Linked DNA regions of Homo sapiens: region 2 is linked to region 1. The links are contacts of gene promoters, found by promoter capture Hi-C in blood cells and fetal thymus (Javierre and others, 2016). All regions are on one chromosome and are shown on one strand. Each heading gives the region's core, a stretch centred on a gene start or on the middle of the fragment in contact. The rest is flanking DNA. Distances are from core to core; before and after follow the strand shown. Region 1 holds the start of FEM1B (fem-1 homolog B). Region 2 overlaps AFG2B (AAA ATPase AFG2B).

Region 1 (4,402 bases), core at 1,334-3,833:
AGGTGGAAGGCTGCAGTTTGTTGTCATCAGCAAATCAATCTCCATCAGGATATAGCTACTTGTAGTTATGTTTTACTATTGCACATTTGCTCAGTGGCTTTCTGTCCAGGGAGGAGGAAATAGGTCAGAAGCACAAGGAACTATTTCTGGGCCCTGGCCTTTGGGAAAGCAGCCTTGTCCTGTTTACATATCCTCTCTCCAGATTTGCACAACCTGACCACAGAAACGTCACCCTCTAAGCCCAGGTAAACAAGCAACTAAATAGTCTCCAGTCAGCCAATAGCTATTAAGAAACCAAGGGAGCCCAGAAGCCTATACGAAGCAACTTTGATAAACACAGAAGAAAACAGCAGCCCAAACCTCCTGACTTTGGGCTGCTGGAGCAAAGAGGTATTCCCATCTTGGGATGGAGGCCACACAATGCAAGTTCTGAGCCCCTCTCTAGCTTGACCCTTGGAGCAGTCACCCCTTGTAGTACCCATCCAGTTATACCACCAAACTGAGGTAGAGAGGGCACGAGGAAGAAGGGAGTCTCTTATTCAGCAATGAGTCTGGATGAATCAGGTCTCCCTTAGAAAACAAAACTGGAAGAAGGGGCCTGTGTCTGGACTTTTTTACATCACCTTCTTCAGAAAGTTGGTTCGGAATAGAATGTAGAATGATTCAGGAACATAATAGGGTAAAAGGCTATGAGGAGATGGTTTTTCTAAAGAGCCAGGCACTCCTCCAGGTCAGCTTGTGCCCAGGTAATCAAAGTGTGTTGGCAGAGGAGAGGGAGGGTGGTAGGGAGACGGAGTTAGAGATATGGAGAGACAGAGAGAGATAGAAAGGCAGAGAGGAGACAGATGGTAGATGAGGTGCATGCTTGCCGTATGGAGCCAGAAAAGGAAGTCATCACACATCTGAATGTGTGAATCCGAGACCAAAAAGCCTGGGTCCCTGTCAAACACTGGGTTTTTTCATGACCCTGAAGTCCCCAAATAAACCAGCCAGCTTCCCCCACTTCTCTATCAGCTATTTCAGAGACGCTACCAGTAGAATCTTACCTTCAGCCCTTATTGCCAATGCTGTTTTTGTTTATGGTAAGGAGAAAAATAACTCGTGTTTCTGTAGGGATCTGCAATAAGTGGGTAAAGCTGAGCTGTAGAATGGAGAGAATTTGAGAAGTGACCCACACCTCCACCAATAGCTGCAATGGAAGTGAGGCCTTTACCTCCTAGAATTGGAATGGTGGGGTTCAAATAAAATAATGTATGTGAACTTGTTGAGCCGAGCCCAGTCCCTTGGAGCCACATAAATGCATTTGTTCTTTCTCTATGGTAAATTTTGTCCTTTGGGGAAGGGAGGAAGAGGGAGGAAGTCACTTTCATATTGAGTTTTTTGAGACTGTCCCAGAAGCTTCATCACCTACCATTCACTCCTACCATCCTAATCCAAGGCCTGTCCCCCTATCTACTCTTGCCTTCCAGAGTTTATTCTCCATACAGCAGCCAGAGTGATCTTTTTAAAAAACACAAATAGCATCTTGTCACTTCCCTCTTTAAAACCCTTCAAATGCCCCCATCACAGAGTAGACTTAAACCCTTTGCTATGGGTTATTAGGCCCTAACGTGTGTTGCATCCTCTGACTTCATCTATCATTCTTACTGTGGCCCACTCTGCTGCAGCCACACTGACCTTTCTGTTTCCGAGCTCACCAGACTGTTCCCTCCTCAGGACTTTTATATTAGCTGTCCCCTTTGCCTAGAATACCGTCTGTTCTTGTCACTTGTCATAGAGGTCTTGTCTGATCACCCAAACTAAATGAGTGCCCCCATCATTCTATTTCATTTGCTTCAGAGCAAATGGTAATGATACCAGTTCAACTGATCTTGTCTATCATTTGTTGACTTATTTGTTCCATTACTGAATCCCTAGTGCTAAGCAGAGCCTGGCACGTAGTCGACCTCTAATATTCATTGGATAAACGATCGTTTCAAATCCTAACAACAATCTTGTGATGTCTGTGAGAAAACGGAGGTTCTGCCGGCTCAGGATGAGATTCCTGCTCTGTCTGAACGCGGGACTCGCTTTCCTTCCCAGGATACCTCGCTCCTTCCACCGCGAGCGCAGCTCCCCTTCGCTCCCATCTTTCTCTCACACTTAACCCCTTTCTCCGGGAAAGTCAGGCCGTACTTCCAGTCCCTTCTCAGAGCCTGGTGTTGTGGCTCTCAAGCCCTCCCACATTTCGGGAACTCAGAAACGCCGCCCTTTTCCTGAAATGGACCCTCCGAGTACGCGCAACCCCTTCCCTAACCCCGGCTCAGGGGCAGAAGCAGGACCCGCACCGTCTATAGTAAAATAGGGTGGTCTCCTTAGCCCATCAGCTTAGCGCCCTCACTCCGCCCCCACTCCCTGGCTGGAGACCCTCAGGGCCGTTTAGGGGCCAGGAGGAGGTTCCAGGAGTCAAGGACATTGAGGACATCCAGGCCCAAACGGGATGGGCCAACTACGCGCAGCAGAACCTTTCTCTACCGGGCCCGCGTGTGCCCGCCGGTCGGCTTAGGCGGAGACACCCCACTTAGCGTCCCTCCCGCTCCCGCCCTCTCCTCCCGGCCCTGTCTGCGAAAGCTCGTCTTCCTCCCCGCCCAAGTTCCGGCGCCGCTCTTGCGGGAGCGTTCCGCATCGCCCCGGGGGCCCCTACGCGAGGATCTCCGGGGCCGTTGGCAGCGCCTGGCACTTCTGAGCTCGGCGGACGAGAGCCTGCAGGTTTCCTCCAGTCAGGGACGGCGAAGGGCGGAAAGCGCAGGAGGAGGCAGTGTTAGGCCTTAGGCCGGGTGGGCCGGGTCAGGAGAGACGCGCCCATCTTTCGCCATCCGGGGTGCGCGAGGTCCTCTCGGGACCCGGCCGGCGACCCGTAGCTCGGGCACGCGCCTGTCGCATCCCGCAGGAAGGAGGGGTCCGGCCTGAGGCCCGGGGCGGCGTCCGCCATGGAGATCCCCTCGGTCCAGGGCCGGCGCCTGGGACCTGGCGGGCGGCCCTGACCGCCTTCCTCCCTGCGCGGGCTGGGTCGCGGACGTGCCCTTCGCGGCACTCGGCCTCCTCTGCGTCTCCGCCTTCCCTGGGCCGCACTGCTGCCTGGGCGCGGCGGCGGCGACGGCGCCCTGTTGAATGGGCTGTGAGGGCCCAGGTTTAAAGCGCTGGCGAACGCGGCCTCCGGGGGCGCACGGCAGCTGCAGCGGTGGCGACCAAACGGGTGTTGGAGTTGGCGGCGGCCATGGAGGGCCTGGCTGGCTATGTATACAAGGCGGCCAGCGAGGGCAAGGTGCTGACTCTGGCCGCCTTGCTTCTCAACCGGTCTGAAAGCGACATCCGCTATCTGCTTGGCTATGTCAGCCAGCAGGGAGGGCAGCGCTCCACGCCCCTCATCATCGCAGCCCGCAATGGACACGCAAAGGTGGTACGCTTGCTCTTAGAACATTACCGGGTGCAGACTCAGCAGACTGGCACCGTCCGCTTCGACGGGTAGGTACATCCCAAGCCAGCCTCTCTCCGACGCGCGCGGACTCGTTAATTCACGGGCCCTCCCCTCCCTCACCCTCTCTTACCCTCTCTTCATGTAGGTACTCACTTCTCCCCTTTTTGTACCACCTCCTGCCCCACTAATGCCCACTTCATCTTCCAGGGCTAATAATCCATCCCATGTTTTGCTGCCCGTCCTCATCAGCCCCTACCCCTCATTCCCTCTGTGGGAAGATAACCACACCCTCGGCCTTGAAATCTAATAGTCGTCTTCTCTACTAGATAGTCTGTGAACAAGCCATTTGGAGGAGGTGGCTGCCTTTCCAGGTTTTACTTTTAGTGGAACTGGTGATGTAACTGATCAGAAATTAAGGAGGTCAGCGGTTAACATTGAAGAACTCCGAAAGAGTTATTTGGGCATCCATTTTTACTCCCTTCAAGTGAGTGGTTCCGTAAAACCTTCAGTGGGCTGCTGGGCTTTAATGTCAAAATAAGCACCTAGAACCAGCAGCAGCTGCAGCATCATGAGGGATTGTCACGCAGCCAGACATCTCAAGACATGATTCTGATTCCTCCACGTTGCTCGGTGTAGATATATTGGCTACTAAGATGGCATTGGACCTGATGTGGGAGATGATGCCATTCTTAAATTACATCTTATCCCGTGATGTTGTGGGGAAGCTTGATCATTTACTGTTAGTTGAGGTGGGAAGTTTAAAAATGCACATTGTTATGCCTAAGATTTGCCCTTTGAGTTTAATTGTACGAATTTTTGGGTATTTGACCAGAATTGTCAGGTTTGACATTATCCTCTTTTCTATGCTGGAGGATTATAACACGTTTTACAGATTACAACTGTATAACGATTTTGCTACATATGTTTTGGTTGACTTGTGGTAGT
Region 2 (4,402 bases), core at 678-3,177, about 23 Mb before region 1:
TGTGTCCCCAGCGGGGCAGTCGAGCACCCGAGAGCCGCGTAGTGGCCCAGGTGTTGACGCTGCTGGACGGCGCCAGTGGGGACCGCGAGGTCGTGGTTGTGGGAGCCACTAACCGGCCGGACGCTCTAGACCCAGCGCTGCGTAGGCCCGGGAGATTTGACCGAGAGGTGAATGGGCTTGGCGGGTTTGCCCACTGTCGGTGGAACCTCGGCCGCTTCTGGCGCCATTTGGCTGCCCCGGAGGCGTTTGCCTCTTAGGTTTGAGCATCGGTGAGGTTGGAGTTGGGGCTCTTTGCAATGCAGAGAACACGTTCTCTGCCGATATATGATCTGTGAGTCAGGACCTGTATTTCCCCAGAGTCAAATTGTCAGGACCTGTGAGTCAGGATCTGAGAGTCAGGACCTGTTTCCCCAGAGTCTAATTGTTTTGGGAAGCGAGGTGTCCATTACAGATTAATTTTGTTGTGCAGGTCCTATAATCAGTAATGTTAATTCTTAAGAGAATTTTGGTCACCTACAAGCGTGTTAAACTCATTTTTTGGAATGAGAATTTAAAGAAGGATAGCCTCAAGAAGTAAGTGTGTTGAAATAAAAAGGGAGAAGGTGGGGAAGAACTAAATGGAAGCAGGCATTAACTCTTCTGGATTTATTCATTCCTTGTCATAACACCAGCATCCTATTCCACAATTGAGGAGGTACCCACAACTGCTCCCTGAGTTGTCAGGGAGGTTGAATATTCAGAGCTGTCCTATTTTAAGCTTTGGTCCTAAATTGACTTGAATTCTAAAGAACAGTTTGAAATTTAGTGACTGATATTTCTATTTTGTGATAGGATTCAAAAGAGAAATGATAATTACACACTTTTAGCTCAGTTAGTTCAGGACTTGAGTGGATTTCTTCCTTGCACTATCTAGTACCTGTGTCCTTAAGGGCAGGGACCTAGCTATCTATACCTGGCTTCTAGAACTTTGTGTGTTCTTAAAAATAACAAAAACTTGTTAAATGACATAGAATTTTCATTGTGCAACTTTCTAGCCAGTGTTACTCCTCTGGAATATTAGGATTTTCGTATATTCAGAATCTAAAGTATACGTAAAGTGCACGGTACTAGTTCCAAAGTGGTTCACTAAATTGTCGTACATGTTTGTCAGGATAAAAAACATATTATTATTTTGGCCGGGCGCGGTGGCTCACGCCTGCAATCTCAATACTTTGGGAGGCTGAGGTGGGTGGATCACCTGAGGTCAGGAGTTCGAGACCAGCCTGGCCAAGATGGTGAAACCCCGTCTCTGCTAAAAATACAAAAAATAAGCCGGGCATGGTGGCACATGCCTGTAGTTCTAGCTACTCTGGAGGCTGAGGCACCAGAATCACTTGAACCAGGAGGTGGAGGTTGCAGTGAGCTGAGATGGTGCCCGCTGCACTCCAGACTGGGCAGCAGAGTGAAACTGTGTCTCAAAAAAAAAAAAAAAAGAAAAAAAAAATATATATATGTATACACACACATATATAAAATTTTTTTGGAAGTAATTCTTTTTTAATTGATCTATTTTTATTGATACATAATTGTGCATGTTTTGGGGTACATGTGATATTTTGGTACATGCATACAATTTGTAATTATCAAATCAGGGTGCTTAGGATATCCATCACCTCAAACATTTATCATTTCTTATCTGAGTGTTGGGAATATTTCAGATTCTCTCTAGTAGCTATTTTGAAATATACGAGAAATTATTGTTAACTATAGTCACCCTACTACACTATCAAACATTACACATATTCCTTCTACCTAACTGTATGTTTGTACCCATGAGCCAACCTGTCTTCATCCCCTCACCCCCAACCCTTCCCAGTGTCTGGTTGCTATCATTCTGCTGTCTACCTCCATCCATGAGATCAACTTTAAAAATAATATATTTTAAACTATATACTTCTTCTTCTTTTTTTTGTTTTGCTTTGCATATAGGTGGTCATTGGGACTCCCACACTTAAACAAAGAAAGGAAATTCTGCAAGTGATTACCTCGAAGATGCCCATCTCCAGTCATGTTGATTTGGGCCTTCTTGCAGAAATGACAGTTGGCTATGTTGGTGCCGACCTGACAGCACTCTGTAGGGAGGCTGCCATGCATGCCCTCCTTCATAGTGAGAAGGTAAGAAGTGTTAATTTATGAACATCTATGTTAATCTATTATTGTAACAGATTAATTTGGGGGTTAAAAAAAAGCGGTGAGTACATTTTCCTTAGAACATTTGATAGCTTCCACAGCTGTTGCTTATACATTTTACATCTCAACTCTATATAAATAGTATATGATTGAGGGTGGGGATAAAGGGCTGAGTCCTCTGGGTCTACTGAGTGAATTTGTTCCCTACTCTTATAGTAACTCCCTAGTGCTGAAGCCCAGAGCAGCCAAGAAATAGTGTGGCCCCAGAAGAATCAAAGAGTTTTTTTAATTTGAATTTTTTTATTTTGAGGCAATTTCAGACTTAGAAGTTACAAAAATAGTACAAAGAGTTTCCATATACCCTTCTCCTAGATTCTCCAAATGTAACATTTGCCACATTTGCTTTATCATTCTCTCTTCATGTGTATTTCCTTATATATATACATATATATAATGAAATATTTGAGCATATACTACATCCATGATGCCCCTTTACCCGCGAAAACGTAAGTGTATATTTCTGAAAAACAAGGACCTTAACCACAGTATGATGATCAAGCTGAGAAAATTAACGCAGACATAATACTTGTACTTAACCTAAATAGGCCTTAATCTAGAATCATACTTCAGGCTTTCTTCTATGAAAACATAACTTTTTAAGAGTCAGTTATTCTGTGGAATATTCGTCAGTTTGGGTTTGACTAATGTTTCTTCATGATTCAATTCAGGTTTTGCATTTTGGGCAGGAATATAATAGAAATGATCCTGTGTCTTTCTCATTGCATCTGTTAGGCAGCACATGATATGTTTCTGTTCTATCACTGGTGAAGTTAACTTTGATTTCTTGGTTAAGGTGGTGTCTGTGAGATTTCTCCATTGTCAAGATACCGTTTTTCCCTTTGTTATTAATAAGTATCTAGTGGGAGAAATAAGCTTTTCTAACCTAGGAGAAGATTGGGCACTTGGAATTGTATTTAAATTTGTCCTTGATCTGCAGGTCTGTAATTCATGACTATTTCCTAACAATATTTAAGATATTAGATTAAATATAATACTTTTCAACTTTGTTGGTTGTAAAATCCAGTATTTTGTATATAATAAATAGTCCTGAATCCTTAAACCCATTCAGGAAAAAACTGATTTCAGCAGGCTAAGGATTCTGAAACAGAGTTTTCAATCTCATTTGTAACATCAAAATTGTCTTTTCATCTTAAACTGCAAAAGAATGATTTATTATCCTAAATTTTGAAAAACCTTTTTACCTAAATAATTTATACCTTGCCTCACTTCCTTTCCTTTATTTCTACAGTTACACCGAAGGTGGGGAGGAGTTATGTGATCTTCTAGTTGATCTTTTAAGTCTTCATCTTGTAGGTTTAGACCAAAACTACTTGAAGTTTTAAAGTTCTGTGTGTAAAGATGTGAGAATAGATGTCTTTTGAGGGAGACAATAAGTAAGCAGGAGATGGGAAGGGAGATTTACATTCAGGATTTCCTCTGCTTTGAAGTTCCAGGTTTGACCATAAGCACCTCTCACTTAGGTGGACCAGTCAGCTGCTGTCGTCCCAGGGTGGAGCCCACTGCTACTTCAGGAGGGGCCTGCTCAGGTGTAGTTACCACAGGTGATGGCTGAGTTCAGAAACAACCCAGGGGAAGTGGAAGGAAGAAAGGCAAAAAGCATGAAGGGACAGACAACTGGGAAGGTACTGGCTCCATCTTTTATTCTTTCCCCCACCAGCTGAGGGGCTGCTGCTACCTCTCCCTGTACCAGGGCAGATAAGGGATACCTTACACTTTGTTAAACTTTTTGTGAAGTATTCCTATTAAAGGATTAGAACTGTAGTTTAACACTCAGACACACACAGAGGGGAAAGAATGTATAAGCCCAAAGAATCAAGTAAAATAATGTGTACACACATGATCTTGAACTATAAATGAGATTTTCAAATATTAGTTCGTGTTACCTAAAGATTAGTTAATATTTGGACATCAGACACCTAACATACTATCAGCCAGTTAAAAAGGCTTTTTTTTAAGTATATAATAGGGTTATTCATGAGAAATGAAGATAGAAAATTATAAAGAACTGCCTACCTGAAATCTCACTTTCCAGAGATGACAATTGTTAACACTTTTGGGAGAATACTTTACAGAATAGCTCTATACATACAGATTCACTTAACATCTGTTTACAAATAAGAAAAGACAGTTTGTTTTTGAAAACGGGAATTTG

The links. The method cuts DNA at HindIII sites, captures the fragments that hold promoters and counts their contacts. A CHiCAGO score of 5 or more calls a contact.
Region 2: a contact is called between a fragment that was not itself captured here and the fragment with the promoter of FEM1B in region 1, in 2 of 17 cell types (total CD4 T cells and naive CD4 T cells). The highest score is 5.9, in total CD4 T cells.

The regions. Positions count from the first base shown.
Region 1 is chr15:68,275,162-68,279,563 of GRCh38, forward strand. FEM1B (fem-1 homolog B) reads left to right here and starts at 2,584. Exons shown (of 2, transcript NM_015322.5): 1 at 2,584-3,504. The coding sequence starts at 3,257. RefSeq lists enhancers at 2,580-3,481, 3,224-3,423 and a silencer at 2,864-3,193. The HindIII fragment of the contact is 2,784 bases long and covers 1,397-4,180 here.
Region 2 is chr15:45,403,352-45,407,753 of GRCh38, forward strand. It overlaps AFG2B (AAA ATPase AFG2B), which reads left to right. Exons shown (of 8, transcript NM_024063.3): 1 at 1-167; 2 at 1,969-2,154. Among named protein-coding and RNA genes, the nearest start is that of AFG2B, 3.2 kb to the left of the region's middle. The HindIII fragment of the contact is 2,345 bases long and covers 756-3,100 here.